7 separate regions of the Homo sapiens genome follow, and regions 2, 3, 4, 5, 6 and 7 are each linked to region 1. Evidence: promoter capture Hi-C in 16 types of primary human blood cells and fetal thymus (Javierre and others, 2016). All regions are on one chromosome and are shown on one strand. The core of a region is centred on a gene start or on the middle of the fragment in contact, and the rest is flanking DNA. Distances in the headings are between cores, read along the strand shown.

What was found. The method cuts DNA at HindIII sites, captures the fragments that hold promoters and counts their contacts. A CHiCAGO score of 5 or more calls a contact.
Region 2: a contact is called between a fragment that was not itself captured here and the fragment with the promoter of PDPN in region 1, in 3 of 17 cell types (total CD8 T cells, naive B cells and activated CD4 T cells). The highest score is 6.7, in total CD8 T cells.
Region 3: a fragment that was not itself captured here is called in contact with the fragment with the promoter of PDPN in region 1 in 5 of 17 cell types (naive B cells, neutrophils, total CD8 T cells and 2 more); the score reaches 6.4 in naive B cells.
Region 4: a fragment that was not itself captured here is called in contact with the fragment with the promoter of PDPN in region 1 in 1 of 17 cell types (total B cells); the score reaches 6.6 in total B cells.
Region 5: a fragment that was not itself captured here is called in contact with the fragment with the promoter of PDPN in region 1 in 1 of 17 cell types (total B cells); the score reaches 7.2 in total B cells.
Region 6: a contact is called between a fragment that was not itself captured here and the fragment with the promoter of PDPN in region 1, in 1 of 17 cell types (total B cells). The highest score is 5.6, in total B cells.
Region 7: a contact is called between a fragment that was not itself captured here and the fragment with the promoter of PDPN in region 1, in 3 of 17 cell types (naive B cells, total CD8 T cells and total B cells). The highest score is 5.6, in naive B cells.

The regions. Positions count from the first base shown.
Region 1 is chr1:13,582,534-13,585,233 of GRCh38, forward strand. PDPN (podoplanin) reads left to right here and starts at 1,299. Exons shown (of 6, transcript NM_006474.5): 1 at 1,299-1,567. The coding sequence starts at 1,501. RefSeq lists an enhancer at 1,202-1,740. The HindIII fragment of the contact is 6,524 bases long and covers 1-2,700 here.
Region 2 is chr1:14,037,113-14,039,812 of GRCh38, forward strand. It overlaps a transcript of KAZN not described here. Among named protein-coding and RNA genes, the nearest start is that of PRDM2, 340 kb to the left of the region's middle. The HindIII fragment of the contact is 870 bases long and covers 866-1,735 here.
Region 3 is chr1:13,902,859-13,905,558 of GRCh38, forward strand. It overlaps a transcript of KAZN not described here. Among named protein-coding and RNA genes, the nearest start is that of PRDM2, 200 kb to the left of the region's middle. The HindIII fragment of the contact is 2,554 bases long and covers 18-2,571 here.
Region 4 is chr1:13,944,767-13,947,466 of GRCh38, forward strand. It overlaps a transcript of KAZN not described here. Among named protein-coding and RNA genes, the nearest start is that of PRDM2, 250 kb to the left of the region's middle. RefSeq lists a silencer at 2,060-2,292. The HindIII fragment of the contact is 5,257 bases long and covers 1-2,700 here.
Region 5 is chr1:13,880,559-13,883,258 of GRCh38, forward strand. No RefSeq gene overlaps it. Among named protein-coding and RNA genes, the nearest start is that of PRDM2, 180 kb to the left of the region's middle. The HindIII fragment of the contact is 620 bases long and covers 1,108-1,727 here.
Region 6 is chr1:13,925,820-13,928,519 of GRCh38, forward strand. It overlaps a transcript of KAZN not described here. Among named protein-coding and RNA genes, the nearest start is that of PRDM2, 230 kb to the left of the region's middle. The HindIII fragment of the contact is 1,127 bases long and covers 755-1,881 here.
Region 7 is chr1:13,973,922-13,976,621 of GRCh38, forward strand. It overlaps a transcript of KAZN not described here. Among named protein-coding and RNA genes, the nearest start is that of PRDM2, 280 kb to the left of the region's middle. The HindIII fragment of the contact is 2,302 bases long and covers 121-2,422 here.

The sequences.
Region 1 (2,700 bases), core at 49-2,548:
TTAGAAATGCAGAATCTCTCCCTATCCCACAACAGAATTGCACCTGCATAACCAGTGCCCCAGGTAGATCTGGCTGAGAAGCTATGATGAAGGGCAAGGTTTGCCAAATGTTCATGGGGACAAGTTCTCCAGCGACACTGGTTTAAAATAGGAATTCCGAAAAGGTCTGATTAATGAGTTTGGGGTGGAACCCAGGAAACTGGGCATTTATTTAAAACAATCTCTCCTGTGATTCTTAGAAAGTAAATTTATAATGGGGAGGGGTCAAAGATAAGCATCTGAAAACAATTTTCACGCAATGTGGAGCTTTGAGACAGCGTTAGTCTTCAGGTTCTTTTGTTGAATGGAATTTGTGGCATCTGGGAGTGGAGCAGAGACCACTTCCCAAACTCCTGTTCTTATTTTTTTAAATTCCAGCAATTCAGAAGGAATTAAAGTAAAAGACGTAAGTTCTCTGGTTGCTGATATCTGGTACCTGAGATCAAGGCAAGATCGCTTAAACCAGTAAAGTGAGGATTATGGGAGCAAACTCAGGAATAAAGAGGGTGAACCAGGCCTGGAAGGGGACACAGGTTTGGCGACCAGACGGGTCACCGCTTGGCCCGGCCTAATCCAACTGCGCACGTCGGTGGGCCACAGCATCGCAGCGCTGGATCCCCGGGTCGGCAGAGGCGGATGGAGTTCAGCCTCTTTTTCAAAACTGCCAAAGCCACCCGGTCTGCCAAACTCCCCCACCAGCCAGCTCTGGGGCAGCCCCCCGGAGCCCGCCCGCTCCGGTCCCCGGGACAAGGGCGCAATTGACCAGCGCGGGCCGCCTCTGGCCCACCCAGATGACGGCCAACTTTTTTTGTTTTTAAGCCATCAAATTCAATATTTACAGGAAAAACCCCATGCTTGGTTCTAAAACTACTGGCCACTCAAGAAACAGTTTACTTCTCACTTCTGCCCATAACAAGAAAAACATAGACTTGTGCCTTACTCTTAAAAAAATAATAATAATAAATATAGGTTTTTTAAAATTTATATATAATTTTTAAAACCCCGTTTGTTGCATGTGGTCCCTTTCCCTCCTGTTGTTGAGCAGAATAAAAGCCCATTTTGCCAGGGCCCGCAGTCCTGGCGGCCCCCGCAGCTGCGGCCCTGTAACTTTAAACCTGGCCTGAGATCATCGTTTTGGCGCCGGCCAAACAGAGCCCGAGGGCGGGCCTAGCGCGCCCGGACGGAGACCACCTTGCGGCCGACCCCGCTCCCCCGCCTCCTCGGGAGAGATAAATGCTGACTCCGCTCGGAAAGTTCTCAACTGCAAAGTTTGCTGTCCGGCTGCCTAGGGTCTGGGAAGCTCGGGCACCCTCCCTCTCCGGGGCTCCTGCTCCCACCCCTCCGGCCCCCCCACCGTCGCGCTCCTCCAGGCTGGGCCTGTGGCCGCGGTGCTTTTTAATTTTCCCCCAGCTCAGAATCTTGCTGCTCGGCCCCCAGGAGAGCAACAACTCAACGGGAACGATGTGGAAGGTGTCAGCTCTGCTCTTCGTTTTGGGAAGCGCGTCGCTCTGGGTCCTGGCAGAAGGAGGTAAGACCCAGCGCAAGTGGCTTCCTGCCGTCGCTGATGGGGACGAGCGAGCAGAGACTTGCTGGAATGCCCGGGCCTGGTATTCGAGGTTGTCCAGGGGAGCGCGGGGGAGCTGAGGGTGTGTGCGTGTCAGGCGGCTGAGCGCCGGAGGAGGAGAGGCAGCGGCTTAGTCGGTGCCAGGTCCCAAAGACGCAGCTGCGCGGGTGTGCCGGGAGGAGCCCCGGAATCCACAGGCTGCGAGGTGGGCAGCACAGGGGGCCTCCCTCCGAGTCGGCAGCACCAGAGAGATCGGGTGGAAGGTTCACAGTAGGCAGCCCCGCTTGCTGGCAGCAGTGGCTGGGGTTTCCTTCCCATAGAGCGGTGTGTTGGAGGAATACGCACGCCTCGGGAGAAGCTGGCCTCGTAGAATCAGGAGGGACGTTCAGGAGGGCTTGGGCCAAGGGGAGGGTTCCCCGCCCTGCGGTGGCCCTGGTCCCCCTTGGGACTACCTAGTCTGGCGCCCTGCCTGTTGGACACACTCAGCACCCCGTCACTGGACTGGAAGAGGCCTCCTTTATCCTCTTTAGAGAGGATAGTGTGTGTGGAAAGGATCCAAGTGGAGGCTTCCGAGGAGTGTGAGTGCATGAGGATTGTTACGCGTTACGAACATTGAGGTTTAAGTGGGTTTGAGCCACGTGTTCATCTTGGGCAACAACATCAGTGGCTGAATGTCTGTTGGTGACTCCTTAGGCTTTAAATATTTTGTATCCCATGTTGGGGTGGGGGCGTCCACAGCTTCCATTACCCTTTGTCCTCTCCTGGAGCCTTACCTCTTCCCGCTGGGTTGCTGTGTTGGTGGTCTCCATTGACATCTGTCAACATTTTGTTTTCTTTTCTTGGGTTTTTATTTTTATATTTCCTCAATAGAACATATGTTCTGCAGGACGCAGCTACATCCAGCCATGATTCCCCACGGCCAAAACAATGCCTGGCACATAGTAGTTGCTCACTAAATGTTGGTTGAAGGAATTGTAACCTAACTCGTGATCTTTGGGGCTGGAGGTTGCTGAGTTATGCTGTGAAAAGTAAACATTTTCCAAAAATTGAGGATCAAGGTAGGCCTAGGCCCTGAGGAATACTTCTTGGAGAGGGAG
Region 2 (2,700 bases), core at 51-2,550, 450 kb after region 1:
AATGGGATCACATAGGGTGGGATTATTTTATAGCCCACTTTTTCCACTGAATACATCATAGACCTCTCTCCATGCCAGTAAATACAGTTCTACAATACTAGTTTTAATGGCTACATGGCAGTTCCTTGTTAAGATGCATGATCATTTATTTATCCAGCTGCCTATTGCTAGACATTCCATTTGCATGACAGGCTGCCCTCTCCGTTTGCCCTTACTCAAAGTGTTTGCCTCTTACCTCTCTAAATTCACCTAAAGCTATCCCCTACCAGTGTAGAAACAGCATTTCTGATGCTTTCGTATAAAGCGGAGAAATCTCTGCACTGACTCTTGTCTGAAGCTATTCTTCCTTTCTGTTGATTCTGTCTTACCTCCCTTGTTGGTCAGTGGAGGAATAGGGACCAAATTTAGAACCCTGAGTCCTGATGTGCACAGCCCAGCTCCTCAGGCAGCAGCTATCGTGTGGCTTGCGGGGAGAAAGAACCTTTGATTTAGAAGTATCTGTTCCTCTCCTCCAGCTGTTTTCAAGAACTCCAGCACAGAAGCAGCTGTCAGCATGTCACAGTAAATTTGGCTTGGTGGCAGCCTGGTCACAAATAAGCTGCCTACATCATGAAGAAATGGGGTTCAATTAAGCCTCTGAAGTCTCCCAGCCGTGCTGCCTGAGTTGGTTTCTTCATTTGTGTCCACACCCTGCAGACTTTGGCTGAGTAGAATAGTGTTTCTGCACCAGTGGGTTTGTTTAGGCTGCTCTCTAATGGGCCCATGCTTTACTAAAAGCCTAGGACGCATTGCTTGCCTGCACTGGTGCATATGTAGAACCCTGAAAGCTTTGGGTTTTAGGGGGTGAGAGGCTGGCTACCTGCAAAGCTTAAGGAAGGGATTAAATTCACTCAACCACCCACCTGTCCATCCATCCATCTGTCCACCCATCTATTCATCCATTCATCCATCCATCCACTTATTTATTTGTTCAGTAAGGTTTGTTGGGCACCTCCTATATGCCAGGCTCTGTTTTAGGCACCTAGGACCCTCAGTGAACAAAAGTGACAAGCAATACTCTATGAGCACAAGTAAGTTACATAGTATTTAGAAGGTACTAAAGGATATGAGTAAAGCAGAGCAGGAAAGGGATCTGGGGGTCTGGGTGGGGCAGGTGCAGTTGTGATTTTAAGTAGGGTGGTGAGGTCAGACATCATTGAGAAGTTAACCCTTGAGGGATGATTCGGAGAGTGAAGAAGTTAGCCATATGGTTCTCTGGAGGGAGAAAGTTGCAGACAAAGGGAGCCCCCAGGTCAAAGGCCTTATGCAGGAACATCCTGCACATTTAAAGGACAGCACCTGGGACAGGTGACCTCAGAAGAATAAGCCTGGGGGAGAGCAAAAGGAAATGAGGTCTGAGGGCAGGGCTCCAGGTTGCCCTCCTTTTCAATATACCTTTCACTGTAGGACTGCAATTGGGTCATGAAAGTGGGATGCTGGGAGCTGAGCGACAACCATAGACACCAGTGCCTTCCTCCCTGGGCTCCACTGAAGAGAGTCCTCGGGAGGGGTGCAGGGTCTCTGCCTTTCAAAGGACACAGGAAACCTTGCCTTAGGTCATACCTGTGATGAAGCTGCAGGGGGTTCAGGAATCCATGGAAGCAGTGCAAAGCGAAGCATGGAGTTGAAAATGAGATAAATAGATTTGGGTGTGAATCCGTTTTTCCAATTCCCTTTACAAATAACTCACTCTCTAAGCTTCAGTTTCACCTCTGTAAAAGTAGGGATTAAAGGCCAGGCGCAGTGGCTCATGCCTGTAATCCCAGCACTTTGGGAGGCTGAGGCAGGTGGATCATGAGGTCAGGAGATTGAGACCATCCTGGCCAACAAGGTGAAATGCCATTTCTACTAAAAATACACACACAAAAAATTAGCTGGGCATGGTGGTGTGTGCCTGTAATCCCAGCTACTCGGGAGGCTAAGGCAAGAGAATCACTTGAACCAGGGAGTAGGAGGTTGCAGTGAGCCAAGATCGTGCCACTGCACTCCAGCCTGGCGTCAGAGTGAGACTCTGTCTCAAAAAAAAAAAAAAAAAAAGTAGGAATTAAAGTAATAGCTATTTGAGAACAACGTATCTAACCCTGAAATTAAGTTGCCTGCTTCCAGACAAGATGGTAAATTGCAGAGCCAAGACTTCCACTCTCTACGTCTGCCTCCACGGTCTCCCTATGAGCTGCCCTCTTATCAAGGCATACAGCAAGGACCAAGTCAACCAATAAAGTGTTTGAAAGAGGCTGGCAAATTGTCAAGTGCTGTATCGATGCACTTTGTCATTGTTATTAAAGATGGGACTTGGGGTTAAGTTCTGAGACGACCCTAACATCTAGCAATGCAAGATTGTCCACATGAGTCGGCAGTGGGCTTTGAGTGACAGCTGAAAATTCTGCTGCTGAAGGTCACGGTAGAGCTTGGCAGGGCTGAGCATGGTTAATAGATTTGATCATCATGTTTTATATTTAAAACTTTTATTTACACAGTATAGTTTAGCAATCGCTGCTGCCTGAGCATTTTACTAATTGATTTATGTTAACTTCCATGCATGCTGTTGATCAATATAAACAGCCTTGTAGTGTTGCATCCTTGGAGATTTAGAGAAAACCCTGACATTCATGCACTCAGTATGCTGGGCGACCTCTCCAGCCCTCTTCCACAGGGGAAAGG
Region 3 (2,700 bases), core at 45-2,544, 320 kb after region 1:
AAGCTCTTAAACAGACAAGCTTTCCCTCCCATTCTTCCTGAATAAAATGTAATGGCTGTAGGTTTAACAAAACCTCCATGATGGTCCCCATGATATGGCCATGGGTGAGTAAGGCTCAGCCCGTGATGGGAACCACAAGGCAAGAAGCAAATGAGGTGGGTTTCCACATGGGTCAGTGGGAAACCCCAAAGCATCAGGGATTATTTGAAGTCTTAACACTGACAATGTGATGTTTGGAGTAGGGAAGATTATAAAAGTCTTGCTGTAAAATGCTTTGAAAATATAAAATTATATACTAATGATGTACTGGCATTCCCAGCCACCCATCTCTCTGGGCGATGATGTTCAGACCTTGATGAAGAACCCACTTGTGGTTTTATGGTCTTGGACCACATTTTTCTTTTGGACATTAGTTCCTTGACCAATTCAGATCACATCTGTTTTCTAAGTATGTAAGGAATGAGCTAGATGAAACAGACATGGAGTCTGGACTTTCATCTGAAAAGTAACTGCGTTTTTGTCGGCCCTTTATATCAAGCATCCTCTTTAGTGCCTGCATTTACCTTTTGTTGTCATCTACAGGGTCTAGTGCCAGTGTGGCTAGGAGGGAGACTCAGCCTCGGACCCCAAAGGGAAGGAGAGCCAGTGGGGGACTCCCATCGAAGGACAAAGACAATGTCATGATGGCGGCTGAGTGGCCAGGCTAGATTCCACTTGGCTGGACTTCCTGAAACTTGAAGTCTTCTCTTTGATCTCCCCAAAGCCATTACCAGTTACATATAGTGAAGACGAGTTAGGTCACTTAAAGAAAGAACTGGTCTGGGGACAGGAGTAAAGGGAAAAAGGGAGGAGGATGTTTTCATCTCTGCCAGGCTAGGGAATTAGAGGAGTGATGGGCAGGAGGAAGACGGCCACTGCTGGGGAGAGACTTAAAGAGATTTTGAGCAGCTCTAAGAGGGTGGTGCTCTTAGCTACTTGAAAAGACAGAAGTTTTGACCTTGATTCCATGGTGAGAAGTGAATCTGAAAAGGAATGTATGTGGTGGGTCCCTCTGAGTCCCTGGGTGACTGCAGCCCCAGTCAGGAGCACCAGAAGCAACAGGTCTCCAGGAAGGGATGCGAGCTCTAGAGAGGCATGAACCACTCCGCACAGAGACATGGTAGACTCAGAAATGTGTCAGGAAATGTGGAAAGGTCTATTTGGAGACTGAGGCAGGGTCTACAATGTCATCAGTGCTTAACATGGAGCAGTTGTCTGAAAGGCTGGGTAGAGGGATCCAAAGAAGGACTAGGGCAAGGGAGCAGAGGATGGAGGGGCAGAAGGCCGGGCGAGGAGGTGCCCTGGGATGCTGGAGGCCAGCATGCACCTTCCTCAGCACAGAGGAAATAGCCACTTCTAAGACAGGTGAAAAGGAATAGTATCTCAGGAAGGGAACCCCTCATGCCTCCTCCCTTCCATTAATAGGCAACACCCTGTGGCCTGTTAAGCAGAAAGTATTGCTGGGAGAACTCCCAGGTTGGAGAAGTTGGGTTGTAGGGATCAGGCCAGTCACAGCTGAGATGATCATCCATGATCAAGACCAATCTGCACTGGAGGCCAGGACAAGCTACAGCAAAGCCTCCACAGCTGGGTCTCTAGAATGTTTAGTTTTATTTTGGCTACTGTTACTGGATAATGTCAGCTGGATATAGATTTCTAAGTTGAGTTATTTTCTCTCAACATTTTGGAAAGGATGTTCCTCTGTTTCTGGTTCCTGCTGTTGCTGTTGGTCTTTGATTTTGGGGTCATTTCTCTGTAGGTGATCTCTCTTTTCTATGGATTTGCTTTGAAAGTCTTTGTCCTGGAAGCTCTGTAGTTTCACTACAGTGTAGCTAGGGGTAGGTCTAATTTTATTTATCCTATCTGGGGTTTGTGCTTCTCAGATCTGAGGATTTGCATCTCAGATGCAAATCATGTAACTCATGTTCAGTTACTTATTTCTTTGAACACTGATTCCCATTCTTTCTATCCCTCCTTTAGAAATTCCTTTGTGACTTGTGTTAGACTTCTCAATTTGAACTCTTTTTCATATTTTCCATCTTTGTCTCTCTGTTGCATTCTGGATAATGACTTTAAAAACTATCTTCTGGTTCATTAATTTTCTTTCTAGCTGTGTCTAATCTTCAGCTGAACTCAGGCAATTCATTTTTCATTGAATGTCTTTTTTTAACCTCTAGAAGTTCTCATTGAATAGTTTTCAAATCTCCCAGGTATTATTTTTTAAGATAATCTTTGTCTCTCTTGCTCTTGATCATATGTTTTATTTATTTAATCATTTAAAATTAATACTTATCTGATAAAGGAATTTTATAATCCAATTCTGGCACTCCTGAGTACATTTCTTCTGCTTTTCTGTTGACTCATGTCTAAGATAGCTTATTACCTCATGCACTTTGCAAGATTGGATTTTGAGCTTATTCTAGGAATTTTATCTGTGAGATGTTATTACCGTAGGTAATGTTAATTTCCAGGCTGGATATTTCCATACATTCCCTGGTAGTATAAATTTGAACCCCAACTCATATGAGGGTAAGCTTGAAGTAATGAGGTATTAAGGGAGATCACTCTCAACCCCTCTCAATCCAGGACTCAGACTGAGGCAGACAAGCTTTCTTACCTCCCCGTGCCTGTGTTCAGGACCCACATCCAAGTCTCATCTTC
Region 4 (2,700 bases), core at 129-2,628, 360 kb after region 1:
TTAAAATACTTGATTAATCAAAAATAAGACAAGAAAAGATAAAATAAGCAACATAAAATAGTTTTGACAAGTAGAAAACAAATAGTAATATAGTTGATATAAACCTGGATATATAAATAATTATATGTAAATAGACTAGATGTTCTCAGTAACAAAGAAAAAAATCCAACACTATGAGCTTACAAGAGATATCCCTTAAATATGTGATACAGGCAGATTTACAATAAAAGGAGAGAAAGAGATATCATTGTAAACACTAATCAAAAGAAAGCTAGTGTCATTTAAAAAATATAAAACAAAGTGGACCTGAAGGTAAAAGACATTACTAGATATAAAGAGAAACATTTCATAATAATAACAATAACAGGCTCAATCCACCTGAAAGATATACTATCTGGAAGATATGAATAAAAAATTTATGTGCAGGCTGGGCGTGGTGGCTCACACCTATAATACCAGCACTTTGGGAGGTCGAGGCAGATGGATCACCTGAGGTAAGAAGTTCGAGACCAGCCTGGCCAACATGGTGAAACCCCCATCTCTACTAAAAATACAACATTAGCAGGGAATGGTGGCCCATGCCTGTAATCCCAGTTACTCGGGAAGCTGAGGCAGGAGAATCACTTGAACCTGGGAGGCGGAGGTTGCAGTGAGCTGAGATGGCACCACTGCACTCCACCCTGGGCAACAGAGGGAGAGTCCGTCTCAAAAAAAAAAAAAAAAATTAGAATTGATCAGGAATGTGAGACTCCATCTCAAAAAAAAAAAAGTTCTGTGCACTTTGCTAATATCAACTCACAATATATATATAGCAATGAATGGTAAAACTAACAGTGTACCCACAATCATAGTTGGGAATTTTAACACAGCTGTTCCATAGGATGATTTTTTTAAATGACATTTGCTCTCAGTTTGTGTGTGTGTGTGTGTGTGTGTGTGTGTGTGAGAGAGAGAGAGAGAGAGAGAGAGAATGTTTTTAAACCTAAGTCTTTAGTACATTTTTTTATGAAGCCGGTGCCTGGTAGATGGGGTGAACTGGGATATTGGAATGCTGGTTCTGGCAAGGGCCACCTGAATTGGGGAAGATGCAGTGGTGTGGTTTTCAGAACATCCGAGATGGCTCCTATGCCTGCTTCCCTTCTCTGCCCAAGTCCCTATTGCTGGACTTCTGAGGAAGCACAGTTATGGGTCTTGGTTGTTTCCAAAAAAGGCCTCTCTCCAGCACCAAGAACTGCCAGATGGCAGTGGTTAGACAATCTGGGCTTCCAAGTCCTCAGGAGAGTCACTCAGACAGATGAAACTACCTTCCTATTTTTAAATAAACCCAGAGTTAGCTTTTCTGTATTCTTTCCCTGGTCAGCAATTTCTGGTGCTTTTCTATTAAGAAATGCATTCTTTTGGCTAACCCGAATCCCTCATGTCATGATTTAAGTGCCTTTATTCTAGTATGCTTACCACAGTCTTACTGATAGAAGAGGAGAAACATCACACAGCTGCCTTCTAAAGCATGGTTTTTGTTTTCTCAATCACAGAATGCATAGAGGCGAAGAGTTGCGATTCTGGAGCCAGTCTTCCTGGGTTTCAAAACGGGATTTTCCTCTTATTATCCATGTGACCTGGGACAAATTACTTTTCCTTCTCCCCATCCATAAAATAGAAATAAAGTGAGCAATTTGAGGATTAAGAAGAATCAAGAGCACAGAAGTCTGCCGACACCGTGATCAATACTAATCATTATGGTTATACTCACTGTAGAAAATTGGGAAATTCCAGGGAGTACGAGGAAGTTTAAAAATTCCCTATGACATTGTTTCACAACTGTCCCCTGCTCCAGTACCTAGGACAATCCTTGGGATCCTTAAGAAACACTTGTTGAACTAATATTCCAAAAGGGTCATGATCACCTGCTTGTGCCCTGTAATGTGTGTCAAAGATGCTAGATGGCTAAGGTATTATGATCCTGAGGTCACCTGACACTGTCTTTATCTGTGTTACTCCGTAACCCTACTTCCTAGCACTGCACCTGAGCCCTGTAAATGATGCCTCATATTTTAATATTAGGTAGTGTATTTTCATGTGTGTGGCTGCTGTTACGAATGACCACAAACTTAGTGGCTTACAACAACAGAAATGCATTCTTTCATGGTTCTGGAAGCCGGATGTCCAAAATTAAGGTATCAGTGGGGCTGCATTCTCTCTGGAGGCTTGGGGGGAGAATCCGTTCCTTGCCTCTTCCAGCTTCTGGTGGCTGTCCCATTCCCTGACCTGTGACTGCATCCCTCTGATCTCTGCCCCCATGGTCACTGTATTAGTCTGTTTTCACACTGCTATAAAGAAGTGCCTGAGACTTGGTAATTCATAAAGGAAAGAGGTTTAATTGACACACAGTTCCTCAGGGCTGGGGAAGCCTCAGGAAACTCACGATCATGGCAGAAGGGGAAGAAGGCACATCTTGCATGGGAGCAGGTGAGAGATAATGAGCAAGAGCAGGGAAAACTGCCTTCTAAAGCCATCAGCTCTTACGGGAACTCACTCAGCAGCTTGCCTAGGGTCACTCGGGTAGCAAGAGGCAAAATCGTGAGTGGACTCAAGATGCATGTTCTCACTCATGAGAACAGCATGGGGGAAACCGCCCCCGTGATCCAATCACCTCCCACCTGGTCCCTTCCTTGACACCTGGGCATGTGGGGATTATGGGGA
Region 5 (2,700 bases), core at 168-2,667, 300 kb after region 1:
GATGGAGTGCAGTGGTGCAATCTCGGCTCACTGCAACTTTAGCCTCCTGGGCTCAAGCCATCCTCCCACTTCAGCCTCCTGAGTAGCTGGGACCACAGGCGCGCACCAATATGCCTGGCAAATTTTTGTATTTTTTATAGAGACAGGGTTTCACCGTGTTGTGTAGGCTGGCCTCGAACTCCTGGACTCAAGCAATCCTCCTGCCTCGGCCTCCCAAAGTGCTAGGATTACAGGCGTGAGCCACTGCATCCATTCCTGTCTATGTTTTAACTGAGTTTTTTGCCTTATTGATTTGGGGGAGTTCTTTCTATAATGAGAATATGAATCTTTTCTTGGTTATAGGTGTTACACATTTCTTTCTTTCATCAAGAGACAATAATAAGAGAGTAGAAAGACTAGTCACAGAAATGGGAGAAGTTCTTAACTTTGATATCTAATTTATCAATCTTTTCCCTAATGGTTGGTGCTTTTTGTGTCTCGTTTAAGAAGTATTGCCCGCCCACCGTTACCAGAGCCATAGAGGTATTCTCTATCACTGTCAAGAAGTTTTGTTTTGCCTGGGTGTGGTGGCTCACACCCGTAATCCCGGCACTTTGGGAGGCTGAGGTGGGTGGATCACTTGAGGTCAGGAGTTCAAGACCAGCCTGGCCAACACAGTGAAACCCCGTCTCTACTAAAAATACAAAATTAGTTGGGCGTGGTGGCGGGCGACTGTAATCCCAGCTACTCGGGAGGCTGAGGCAGGAGAATCACTTGAACCCAGGAGGCGGAGTTTGCAGTGAGCCGAGATCGCACCACTGCACTCCAAGCCTGGGTGACAGAGCAAGACTCCGTCTGGGGAAAAAAAAAAAAGTTTTGTTTTGATTTCACATTGAAATCTACAATCTGCATGTAACTCACTTCCATCTATGGTGTAAAGTGGAGGTCAACTTTCACTTTTTTTCTCCATATGAATTTCCACTTGATTGACCGCCATTAAGCATCTCCGCTGCCCTGCAGTGATGGTGTTGTCCTAATGCAATAGTGAGTCAGCTTCTGGACACTTTATTCTCATTATTGATCTCTCTGTGTATTCTTAGCCCAATACCATGCTCTCCTAACTACTGAAGCTTAATTATCTGTCTGGAGCATCTGGTGGAACAAGTCTTCATTTCTGGTGGCCTTCACCAAGAGCTTTTGGCCCTTTGCCTTTCCAGTTAAATTCTAGAATCATCTTGTCAATGTTTACAGAAAATCTGCTTAAATTTTGATCTGATTAAATGTGTAGATTAATTTGGGAGAATTGAAGTTTTTACAACATTGAGTCATCAAACTATGACTCAGTGGTGCATGTCTTCATTTGTTTAGGTTCCTTTCCTTTCTGCCCGTCTCATAGATTTCTGTAGAGTGGTCTTAAGGGCTTTTTGTTAGATTTATTCCTTGTTATTTGATATATTTTGATGTTAATGTTATAGTTTCTTAAAGTTTATTTTGTTCCACATCCAGTAATATAATTTACATTTTAACGTGTACCTTATGCTTATGTAGCAACATTGCTAAGTTTATTCTAATAATTTATCTGTATACTTTTCTTTTGGGATTTTCTACCACAATCATGCCAACTGCAAATAGTGACAATTCTATTTTTCTATTTCAAACCTCAAATCTTGTCTCTTTTACTTCCAGTATAATGTTGTATAGAAATGATGATAGTGGCCATTCTTGTCTCATTCCTCATCTTAAGAGGAAGCTTTCAATATTTCATGAATGTTGTGAAGGATGTTTTCTGTAGGCTTTTTAATACAAATTATTTATCAGATTAAAAAAATTCTCTTTATTCTTATGACACTTTTTGAGATGTGAATTAAGGTTTGGCAAAGGGACAATTTTTGTAATGTTCTCTGTGTTTTTTTTTTTTTTCTGAAGAGAATGTATACGCTGTACTTGTCAGGCACAACTGATCCATTATATATGTCTGTTAGTCAATATGTTAATTGTGTTCAATTTTTCTGTATTGCTTGCTTTTTGTTTAGTTTTTCACTTCTGGGTTTAGTTTTTTGCAGTTTGTCAATTTTTTGCTCATGTTTGGAGGCTTGTTAAATTGATCATTTTGTTATTATGAAGGATGTTTTTGATTGCTAGAACTGGGTTTTTTTTTTTTTAATTTTTAAGTCTACTTTGTCTGATAGCAACATAGTATACTAGCTTTCTTTACAATTCTTTTTTCTCTCCTTTCCTGATATCTTTTGGATTGATTATTTTTATACTCATTTTCCCTTCCTATTAGTATGGTGATTTTGTACGCTTTTATAAACTTTCAGTGGTTATACAAGAGATTGTAGTATGTATCCTCGACTTATTAATGTCTAATATAAATTAATCCTTCTATTTTTCCCTGGACAATGCAAGGACCTTAGAACATTTTAATTCCATTGTTCTTCTTTCAACTTCTAAGCTATTTTTGCTCTGTATTTTATTTCTATATATACTTTAAATCCTACAGTGTATCACTGACCTGTTAATATAAGATAAATTAATGTTAACCATTAGTAATTATGAATTCATAGTCAACATTAAGTTATATTTAATTTAGACTTAGCCACAATTAACCTTTTCACAGCTCTTTGTTCGTTTCCATGGCTCTGAGCTTCCACTTGGCTTCATTTTTCTCCTCCTTGAAGAAACTCCCTTTAGTGTCTTCTTGATGTGTCTGCTGGTATT
Region 6 (2,700 bases), core at 68-2,567, 340 kb after region 1:
AATTGGACTCAAGCACTGGGAGTTGCAAATAGAGTTGGGATCCATTTCAAAAATAGTTCTTGGAGGATTTGCTGATGATTGAAGTTGGGGAGTGAGGGCAGAAGAGTGAATGACCATGAGGGTCTCCCCTGGGTGGCCCATAGGATGGAGTGGCCATTGACTGAGATGGTAGAGACTTGGGAGGGGCACATATGGGGTGGTTGGGGGACAGAGCGTGATTTGGTTTTGATAATGGTTTCTCTCTCCCTTTGTTTTTTTTCATTTCAAAGGATCTAGTTCTCATTTGAGTCTTCACTAATGAGTCACTTCTCCTAGGAAGCTTTCACCAATTCTCTCCCAAACTGAGTTGGGGTCTTGCTGACTCCGACAGCACTTCATGCTTCCCTATGCCCTGGCTCACCGTGCTGTTACTACCCAGAGTGGGCAGGACTAGGACACACCAGGCTGGCTGTCTGCCCTGGCTGGCTGAGACCACCAGTGAACACTGCACCTCCCTGCTGGGAGAATAGGGGCTCACTCTTAGTGTGGTGGCAACTCTGCCTATGTGAGCTGGAGGTGCTTTCTTTTCTTACCCTGAAATTTTCGAATTCCATGTTTAGGACAAGAATGAAGCAATGAACAGTCTCCACTTGTGTTTCTGAGTCACCCGATGGCTTCCTCCCACATTTCCCCTGCCTTTTCCCTATTTTCAAGTCCCCTTTGCACAAAGGCATGTACACGTGTAGCCAGTGACATTGGGTCCTGATTACAGTGAAGCTTACAGGTCCTTGTTATTAATGAGTAAAAATAACCAGGCAATGAAAATAAGAAAGGAAGATTTATCTTTAAGAGTTAAAAAAAAAAAAAAAATCTCCTGGGAACTTCAGTGCATGACAGCCATAAATGGCTGTAAATTTTCCCAAGCACAAATCAGTATCTTAAGGTGACAAAATGCTGGCTGGAGTGACATATCATATTTGATACTGGGGTGACAGTTAAAATAGCATCCTCCATATTTGCTATTTTTCCAAGTTAGGGCTTCAAAGGGAATAGCTAGGGAGACAAGAAACATTTATCATCTATGATTTTTGCTCCCTTTCAAAGGTTAACCTTGCTATGGTGCTCAAAGAAAAAAACCTGCAAAAATATGTGTTTTAAATATGCATTTGTCGTAAAGTGCCTAAAATCCCATGTCACTCGGCCCTTTGTTTTCCATGAAAACCCTCATGCAAGATTCTGTCATTGTAGCGTGGCAGCTATGCTAAAAAAGAGATGTCACATTTTCAGTTTCATCAAGCAGGATTCTTGTTTTTGTGTGTGACCCAATTTCCGTGTTCTATAAAGCCCTTTCAGAAATCTTTTAAGATCATAATAATGCAGTCCTGGGTTTTGTTAATAGAAGTACAATATCAAGGTGCCTGTGTCTTCCCTGGAATGAACCTGGTCCTAGTGCAGTTGGAGAAGAAAGACACTGAGGAACTAGAAGGTCACACAGGGACCCTGAAGCAGGTTTGGAAGACTTTCTGTATAAAACAGAGCTGAGCACAGTGGGGCATTACAGAGAGGGCTTAAAATGGGGCCTGGGAGCTGTTTACAGACACCTAAAAGGGTTTGAGCAGGAGGAAGTATTTTTTTCTGCTCATCACATCAGAAGACAAGGTTAGGAATAGCTGGGCAAAGAACCATCAGAGGTGGGTTAGGAGTTTGGTCTGTGTCCCAGGCAGACCTATGTCCAAATCCCAACTTCACTTTTATCCACTTTGGACCTATGTTCAAATCCCAATGGTACTGTTGCATTCTTTGATTCAGTGGCTCTTGGTGGAGGATCTCTTTTGAGCCAGGCATGTTTTTAGGCATGGAAAATACAGTGGATGCAGGATGGAGAAGTTTCCTGCCCCAAGAAGCTTGCATCTTAGTGGGAATCCAAAAGCTAGATCCATATTCTGATATTTAGAAGGTCGCATAGCAACTGAAACAGAGAGGAAACTGGATGTGTGGAGCGGAAGAGACACAAGTACAGGGTGCTCAGAGGCTGCCCTGCAAGGGGCCACATTTGGGCTGAGACCTGAGTGATGGAAAAGATATGGTCACATGAACATCAAGGAGGAGGGCATCCCAGGCAGGGGCAGGGCCCCTGCAAAGATTCTATGGTGGGAACAAGCCTGGCAGTGGGTTCAAGGAACAGAAAAGAGAGCCGAGTCAATGGCAGAGGTGAAATTCCAGCTTGGCTCCATCCAATTTCAGAGCTGAAACTGTTAACCACAGAGCTAAGCTACACATACTGGAGGAAGCAGAGGGTGTGTTTGTATGCAGTGGTCAGAAATTTCATTGCTCAGGTTTTGCGGAGAAGATCAGGTTCCTGTAAACTAATAGCCTGTGACTTTAAAAATGTGCCATACCTGGGGTTCTCCTGAAAGTGCTTTCTCATATAGTTAAGAAACTTGGGTGGAGATCCCGTTGTGTTACTTCCTTTTGCTGGGTCCTTCTGGATCATGTATGATGATGATGATGACAGTGGTGACATTGATGATGACAACTGTAACCATAGTAACAGCTTCTCTGAGAACTTGTTATATACCTGGCACTCTGTGTATTATCTCCCTGAATTCCTATTTTTCTTTTCTTATTGTTCTGTTAACACTGAAGCTTAGAAAGGGTAAGTGACTTGCCCAAGGTCACACAACATCAGTATGGCTTCTGAAATCATGCTTGTCACTAGTT
Region 7 (2,700 bases), core at 22-2,521, 390 kb after region 1:
CCAGGAGGATTCCTAAGACTATGCATATCGTCATACTCACAGCTAGGACTAGGATGATCCAAGGCAAAATCAGCCAAAGAAAGAGATGCATGGGGCAAAGTCTGGTGGAAACCAGGCACAAGCTTCCAGGAGCTTCGCTCAGGGGAGTCACATGGGATGTGTGTCAATCCTCCAACACTGGATTGTGACAATGTGTGTGAAATGTTATCAAACCAGGAATTTGTAAGAGATTCACTGCCAGTGTTTTTAATGGGGGCTGGTTATGTAGATCTTCTCTGCCTAGCATGTACCAAAACTCCAGACCCAGAAGAACAAGCAGCTGCCTAGAATAAACCACATTGTACAAACAATCTAGGCATAATGGGCCACTCTTATCATTTAGGGAAAGTTTATATCAGTGTAGGGAACTGTTTAAGATGTAAGTTGGCAGATACCAGCTGTAGTGAGTTGAAAAATGGTGCCTTTAAAGATCTGCCCACATCGAATTCTCAGAAGCTGTGAATGTGGCCTTATTTGGACAAGGGTCTTTGCAGATGTAATTAATTAAGGATCTTGGGATGAAGACATCATCCTGGATTATCTGGGTGGGACCTAAATCCAGTGACAAGTGTCCTCATAAGAGACAAGTATCCCTTATAAGGAACAATTTGGCAGACAGAAGAGGAGAAGACAATGTGACCATGGAGGCTGAGATGGGAATGCTGCTGCCACAAGTCAAGGAATGCCTGGGGTTGCCAAAAGCTGAAAGAGGCAAGGGACAGTTTCTCCCCTAGAGCTCCCTGAGGAAGCAAAGGAAGCAAGGTCCTGCTGGATTTGGGATTTCCAGCCTCCAGAACGGTGTGGGAGTCAATTTCTGTTATTTTAAGCCACCTATTTTGTGGCAGTTTGTAATGGCAGCCCCAGAAAACCACTACACCAGCCAAGGGCCAACCTTGTAAACCTTAGATACCCTGGAGGTCTCACACAGACCTTCAAGACTGCTTTGTTAACTCTTTTTTATATCCGCCCTTTCCCTACAGTGTAATTTGCTATCAGATGATCTATTTATTTTTATAGCACTTTTCTTATCCTAATTATGTTGTTTTCTAGTTGTTCATTTAACATGTATTTATTGATCACTTTCCATGTTCTAGGCACTGTGCTGGATTTTGGGTGTAGAGTGATAAGAACAGATGGGGACTCTGCTCTTAGAGATTTTACGTTGAGAGCCTACAGTAGGAAGACAGATCATAGAGTGTGTCAGGGTGGTGGCTGAGTCAGCTGCCCACCCCTGCCTCCACATGTATTTGGATCGAATTTGGCACTTTCTGTCATTACTCAGAAGGCAGGAGTGGGGCCTGGGGAGGCCTTTGATTGTGAGGCACTTCAAGGCCACTGTTCAGAACACTTGGTTACTTCATCACAGCCCATACCAAGCATATAAAAAAGGTCTCTTTATTCTAAGAGTATCTTTGAGTGAGAAAGGAGCTTCAGATATCAGTGGGCTGAGAGGTGATGCTTCAGAGGCTCGACTCTTTCCTCTGCACTTAGAACCATGTGTAGCGGAAAAGAGCTGCATGTGCCTAATTTGCAACTTGAAACACAATTGGACTTTCTCTATGTATTTGTTTATCATATGTCTGTTAAATTATAGCTACCCAAACATGCTCTTGAGTCCCCAGTGCTGAGTAAAAACTTAGAACAGAATAGATACTCATCAAATATTGATCAAATGAGTGGATGAATGAGCCATACATTTCCTTAAACAAAACTTAACACACCGGCAGGTAGATAGTATTGACTCAATTGTCTCCCCTACCAGATCATGAACTAGTCGGGAACACGAGTCACGTCATGATGTTTTTTGTGGTCCTGGCACATTGATGGGGTCAGTCAAGGCTTGCTGAATGAATGAATGAATGAATGAATCAAAAGGAATAAATATGAGTACACGCATAGTAAACCCAGCTTCTGAAAGGTGTTTTGATGAAAAAGTAAAGCAACATTTCTCAGAGTGCTTTGGAAGTCTCTCCTAGATTTAGGCCACTTTTCCTCTGTGTTTTTGGTGTCTAGGACAATTAATTTTGTTCAGTCCATTGCACCCTGCCTTGAATTCAGATGCCTGGGTGATTTTTCTAAAACTTTGGCTGTTTATCTTGTGAGGCTGGTTCTTCCATTAATATACCCCATCTGTTCTGCTCTCCAAATAATGTCTTCGTGAGAATTCTTAAAGTTGGCCTCTAGAATCCTTAGTTTTCAGATGATTTTTCCATTTACAATAATGACCATTCTGTCTAATTTTTATTCTTAATATTTTCTGATGGACTTTCCAAATGCATCCATGCTTTTGATTTTCAAAGAGAGCAAATGGGAAATCGACTAATAAAAATCTGTAATGTAACGGTTTTAATAAGTCAATCTGTCCTTTGCTGTCATAGAACCAAGCTTCCATTTCACTGTTCAAGAACTCATCAGATGAAATGACCTCCTTGTCAAGAAAAATTACTCCATATGGTAATGTAATCACAAAGGAGAAACATTATTTCCCTATATATTATTCCCCGCAGAAATTGCAGTAAGAAAGCCATCATATTAAAAATATCTAGGATGCTGAGGTTCCTGTTTGCCAGCCTGATGGAGTTCATTTTCTTTATAGGAGAGGCAAACTCAGTTCTCATTGGCAGCATTTTATTTTAAAGGTTCATTAGGCAATTGTACATT